2 separate regions of the Homo sapiens genome follow, and region 1 is linked to region 2. Evidence: promoter capture Hi-C in 16 types of primary human blood cells and fetal thymus (Javierre and others, 2016). All regions are on one chromosome and are shown on one strand. The core of a region is centred on a gene start or on the middle of the fragment in contact, and the rest is flanking DNA. Distances in the headings are between cores, read along the strand shown.

The links. Contacts are between HindIII fragments. The CHiCAGO score rates a contact against its expected background, and 5 or more counts as called.
Region 1: a contact is called between a fragment that was not itself captured here and the fragment with the promoter of TRIM44 in region 2, in 1 of 17 cell types (naive B cells). The highest score is 6.0, in naive B cells.

The regions. Positions count from the first base shown.
Region 1 is chr11:33,160,510-33,163,524 of GRCh38, reverse strand. CSTF3 (cleavage stimulation factor subunit 3) reads left to right here and starts at 2,045. Exons shown (of 21, transcript NM_001326.3): 1 at 2,045-2,226. The coding sequence starts at 2,200. CSTF3-DT (CSTF3 divergent transcript) reads right to left here and starts at 1,868. Exons shown (of 4, transcript NR_034027.1): 1 at 1,744-1,868. RefSeq lists enhancers at 1,661-2,080, 2,816-3,015. The HindIII fragment of the contact is 203 bases long and covers 1,583-1,785 here.
Region 2 is chr11:35,661,449-35,664,303 of GRCh38, reverse strand. It overlaps TRIM44 (tripartite motif containing 44), which reads right to left and starts at 1,529. Exons shown (of 5, transcript NM_017583.6): 1 at 524-1,529. The coding sequence starts at 1,192. RefSeq lists enhancers at 841-1,341, 1,553-1,872 and a silencer at 1,133-1,512. The HindIII fragment of the contact is 12,326 bases long and covers 1-2,506 here.

The DNA of each region.
Region 1 (3,015 bases), core at 435-2,934, 2.5 Mb after region 2:
TACAAAAATTAGCCGGGCGTGGTGGCGCACGCCTGTAATCCCAGCTACTCAGGAGGCTGAGGCAGGAGAATCGCTTGAACCTGGGAGGTGTAGGGTGCAGTGAGCCGAGATCGCACCACTGCACTCCGGCCTGGGCGACAGAGCAAGACTCTGCCTCAAGAGAAAAAAAAAAAAAAACCTAAATGTTCCAAAACTCAAAACGCTCCAAAATCTAACTTTTTAAGCACTGACATGACTCTCAAAGGAAATGCTCATTGGAGTATTTCAGATTTTGGATTTTCAGATTAGGATGCTAAAGTGGTAAGTATATATACGTAAAACACTTTCATATTCTGCTTTTCTTCATTTAATACGGTGGTTGCCTTTCTGTCAGTCATCGTACATTAGCATCAGTTTGCTGTGTGATATTCCATTGCAGAGATAAATCTTGTGATATTTTTAACCAGTCCTCCATTGCTGGATGGTGCAATGAACATCTGTTAATACATATCTTTTGCTCATGTGTCTGATTATTTTAAGGGTAAGATTTCAGCCTGTGGAAAGGGAGTAAGTGTAAGTTTGAGCAGAGGAAAGGAGACCTAAAAGAATAAGGCGAGTCTGGGAACAGTTCACTAGGTTATTTTAGGGCATTGGACCCCCGTAGGCGAGAAATGCTTGCAGACATCTAACGATGACGCTTAAATGGAAGAGCAGTTTGAGAAGATTTAGTATCATTTAATTTTTTATTTTTTATTTTTTTTGAGACGGAGTCTCGCTCTGTAGTCCAGGCTGGAATCTCGGCTCACTGCAACCTCCGCCTCGCGGGTTCAAGCGATTCTCCTGCTTAAGCTTCCCGAGTAACTGGGACTACAGGCGCAAACCACCACGCCCGGCTACTTTTTTTGTATTTTTGGTAGAGACGAGATTTCACCAAGTTGGCCAGGTTGGTCCTGAATTCCTGACTTTATTTATTTATTTTCTGAGACGGAGTCTCGCTCTGCCGCCCAGGCTGGAGTGCAGTGGCGCGATCTCGGCTCACTGCAAGCTCCGCCTCCCAGGTTCACGCCAGTCTCCTGCCTCAGCATCCGGAGTAGCTGGGACTACAGGCGCCCGCCACCACGCCCGGCTAATTTTTTTTTGTGTGTGTGTGTATTTTTAGTAGAGACGGGGTTTTACCGTATTAGCCAGGATGGTCTCATCTCCTGACCTTGTGATCCGCCCGCCTCAGCCTCCCAAAGTGCTGCGATTACAGGCGTGAGCCACCGCACCTGGCCTAGAACTCCTGACTTTAAATGATCCATCCGTTTTGGCCTCCCAAACTGCTGGGATTACAGGCGTGGGCCACCGCGCCCAGTCAATCTCATTTAATCTTAATGCCAGGTACTGTTCTAACACTTTTCTATGTATAATTTATTTCACTTGCAGGTACTATTATTATTCCCATCTATAGGCCAGAAAGCTGAGGTACGAAGTTTAATTACCAGAGTTACTTATCTTCGTTAAAATCCAAGCAGTCTGGGCTACAAACAATTATACCTACTTTGCAGTCAAGGAACCAAGCTGAGATGTTGAGCTGAAAACCCAGGTCTCAGACTTCAAAGCTTTCTACACAAGAGTCGACGGTGGCAGTAAAAATTAATGGGGGCTTGATCTATCCCTCCCACCCCCAAGAAAAGTAAAAAGCAGGAGCTGGGACCAGAGAAAACCTCCACGGAGTCCTTATCCCCTAAATATAAGAGGCATTTAACGTTTAGCATTGCTGACCTGCAATCAGGCTTCAACTGTGAGTAGCCAGGCTCTAAAGCTTGATAACTGAATTCCAAAAAGCGCGCGAGCCTCCAGGCGAAACAGCTTCCCGCCTTCCAGCCGGTTGGAGCCGGCTCAGCAACAGCCTCTCCAAGCCAGGGTAGTGACGTCAGCCCAGGAATTGGGCCCGCCCCGGGATCTCGCTGCTTTCTGCACGCTCGGAATAACCAGAGTCGCGAAATTAGCCCCGCCCACTGCCCCGGAAGTTAATGCGGAAGCCACACACCTCCTCCTCGGCCGGCAGGGGCGCAGCCATTTTAATTCATATTTGAGTGGGCGGTGGCGATTGGTGTTGGCGGTCTGGCTCAGCTGGGCAGGGGGTAACTTTACTGATTTGGGGGTGGTTTTTAGTTTAATTTTTCTTTTCTAGCTTCCCATCGACGGTCAGTGCGCACGTTGTAATCAGCTGAGGCCATGTCAGGAGACGGAGCCACGGAGCAGGTGAGGAAGGAGAGTGGTGGGGCCTCGTGGCGACCTCTTCTCCACGTCTGTTCCTCCGACTGCTCCAGACATGTTCGGCTGAGGAAGGAATTGGGTCTAGTGAACCCGGGGGACAGGGTATATAGAAGAGTGGTGGGAATGGGGAGCAAGATCTAAGATTTAATTTTTTTTTTTTTACTTCTCTCTCTTAGGCATGAATACGAGTAAATACTTGATTTAGACAATAGCGGTAGGCTGCTTCGTCCTATTTAGATTCATGGGACTACTCCAGATGGGATGCTTTCCTTTGATATCGTTTTGGTATTAGAGTGGATAGGAATTATTTTAACGTGCACCCGACGTTTTAGAAAAACTTGACAGTGTTTCTTTTACCCCGCCAAATATACTGTACCCAGAAATAGGTTACTAGTTTGAGAAATATTTGAGACAAAGCTAATCTGGAGAATTAAGACTTAATGAGAGCGAGTGAAGAAAGAAGCAAGTTATGCTGAGGTTTTGGGAATTTTGTGGCTTTCTTTCGTTTTCTTTTCTTTTAGCCACATTTCGTTTTCATTTTTCCAGCTACATAAACATTGCAGGTATAAGTTGAAAATGAGAAGTCTGTTTTGGCCACTGTAAATAAAAGCATCTGTTTTAATAGTAAATATGAGTGACAACTAAATATTTTAAAATTCACACTTTTAGGTTAGATCAGTGTGATTTGTTTCTTTTGCTCTTTGTATTCAGAATTTTGTAGGATAGTATTTACCTTTTAGTGTGAAAGAGGAAGCTAAATAGTTATGAAAAATG
Region 2 (2,855 bases), core at 280-2,779:
CTACTAAGTTTCAAACACGAAGAATCTAAAATGAACTCGGGGCACATATGAAGTTACTATTAAAACTATTTTGTTAGTCTTTTCAATGCAGACGTATCACTTGCTTGGATTCATGTGGCAAAATCCTATTTCCCATGTTTTCAAGTAGGCAAAAAGATTGCCTTATCAAGAGCCCTAGCACAAAGCACCAGTTTCAACAATAGTGATGCTGTGGAAATTGGCCTAAGTGGGGTCAAAACTCCCAAGAAATGCTTTACCTGGGATCCACAGACCAGAAACTTGCAATTTTCTAGAAATTGTATACTAGATTTTGTGTGTATTTTCTCAGGTCAGAGTCCAGAACTTTCATCAGATTCTCAAAAGAGTTCAACCAAAAACGGTGAATAAGAACTGCTCCCAAAAAGTTGGAAAGACTAGCTTCTTAGGGACACAGTGAAAGCGAATGTGGTCACAGCCAGGCCACCTGAGTTGAAACCCAGGTGTCCTGACCCCTAGGTTTATGCTCTGAAGGCCCAATACTTACTCTTAATTCTTCAAAGGCTTCGTCTAGGGTGGAGAGTTGGTGGCCCTGGTGAGCCCCAATGACTGGACACAGGACACAGATGAGCTGCCTATCTTCCTGGCAATAGGTACTCAAATCAAGCCCATGGTCCGGACACTTCCTCTTGGCCACTCTCTCTGCTTCCATTTCTATTTCTGGGTCAAATTCACTTTCTGCCTCAGTTTCTCCCTCCGCCTCGGATTCCCCTTCTTCTTGGTTGTCTTCTTCGGCCTCGCTTTCTTGCTCATCCTCCATTTCTTCCTCGCTGTCTTCTTCACTCTCCTCATCGCTCTCATCCTCACTCTCTTCCTCTGTCTCGCTCTCTTCCTCTGACTCGCTCTCTTCCTCCGACTCACTCTCTTCCCCTGCCTCGCTTTCTATCTCCCTCTCCTGCTCCACCTTGACCTCCGCTTCTTCCTTCCCCGCCCCCTCTCCGTCAGCTGGCGGGGTCCAGGCCTGGGAGCCGTGGACGTATTCGGCCAGATGGTGACTGAGGAACTTCTGCCTGTGCGCCTCGGCATGGCGGCGGCAGTAGCAGAAGCCGCATTCTCGGCACACTTCCTCGGCCCCCGGAGCCTCGTCGGGCTCGCACTCGTCACACGTGCCGTCGTGAGGCAGTTCCTCGAAGGCCGCGCCCACTCCAGAGGCCATGTGGGTGCTGTGACGCGGCCAAGGCCTCGGGGCCCCGGGGCTCGCCGCCTTCCTTCCGCGCGGCCTCACTTCCTCCTCCCGCCCCGGGTCCCTTCCTAGGGAGTCGCCTCCCGCCTGGACCGCGCCGCGTCTCGAAGCGGGACCTGGGGCCGCGGCAGCCCCTGCCCGGGCGCAGCAGCAAAGACCCTTTCCGCCGGCTCGGCCTGCTCCGCTCTGTCCCTGCGCTTCCTCTGCCGCGCAAGGCACTTCCGGCGCGGCCACCCGGCGCCCCCGTCGGCCCCCGCGTCGCGCCGCCCGCTCAGCCTCCCGCTACCAGGGAGAGATCGCGGCAGCCGCCGGCCCCCGCGCCGCCCCGGTTCCACTTTCCCTTTCCCCGTCAGGAGGCCTCCTTTTACTTCCTGAGTCATTTAAAGTGGCAATGACCCTTTTCTGCTTTTCCCGCGGGGCTCAGCTCCTCCGCTCCAAATCTCAGCGTGCCTTGGAGGAGGAGGAGGGAGAAGGAGGATGGAGGAAGTCTCTTACTCTCTCCAGAAGCAGGAATTGGGCTCCACCTCCCCCATTCCCTCCCTGGAAGTGTCAACTTGAGTTTTCACGGCCACTAGGCTGGTGTCCCTGTGCATTTCAGTCTCTCTTGTGCCAATTTGTCGCCGCCCGTCACAGTCCCCAGTGTTCTGCAAGGTGCCCGGACAGTGTTGTTTACCAGACTGAACCTGACCTCTTGGGATTTCCTGAGTGCGGAAGGGCTATGTTTGTTCTAGGCTAGGGGAATTGGAGTTAGGATGAGCAAACAAATATTTTCGATCCAAAGCAATACTGTGCTTTGTCTATTTGCATTGCTACCTCCTAGGATCTCAGAATTTCTGGGGTGGTAACCTCTGTGCGGTTTTCTGAGAGCTGCCTTCGGTTGGGCAGAGACGTCAGGTGAAGTGAGGTGGGGAGAGGCAGTATTTGTCGAGTGACAGGTCCAGGTTGCAGTCATTTTCCTTTATGTAAGGTGTCCCTCTAGATTCCCACTGGGCTCTAAGAGAAAAGAAGGGAACTGTTGTTTATAAAGCAGTACTGTAGTGCCAAGAACCCGGCTACATCTTTTTGTGGCTCTTTAAAAGCCGGTTTTGGAAGATCCTCTGCCCGATGGTCCCCAAATCCTGGTGCCACTACCTATCAGTTTTATGACCATGGACAAGTTAATTCATCATTCTGTTTTCCGCTTTTTAAAAAAGATGTTAAGTGAAAAGAACGGTAAATATCTACCTCATGGGGTAGTTTTGTGGATTAAATGTAACGATGCCTGCACTGTAGAGTATTCACTAAGCTTTCATTATTATTTTTGGCACAAATTATATTTAGTGCTCACAATGCCCCTTTGAAGGAACATATTTTACACACACAGGGCATTTTCGGCTGGCTGCTGGTAATGTAGGCAAGTCTCCACCTCTACCCCATATCCATGTCTCTCCATTCACAGAAGAGTTTTTGTTTTGCACTGTATTTGGGAGAGGGAAAATTACGTTTTTATCTAGTCAAGGGAGAGGCTGAGGTGTATTAAGAAGGATGAAAGGGGATGGAATGGTGTCTGTTTTACATTGATTCCCTTAGATGATTTTGAGTTAGAATTTCCAGATGCTTTCCTCAAACATACCAGGGGATGAGGTGGGGTAAAAAA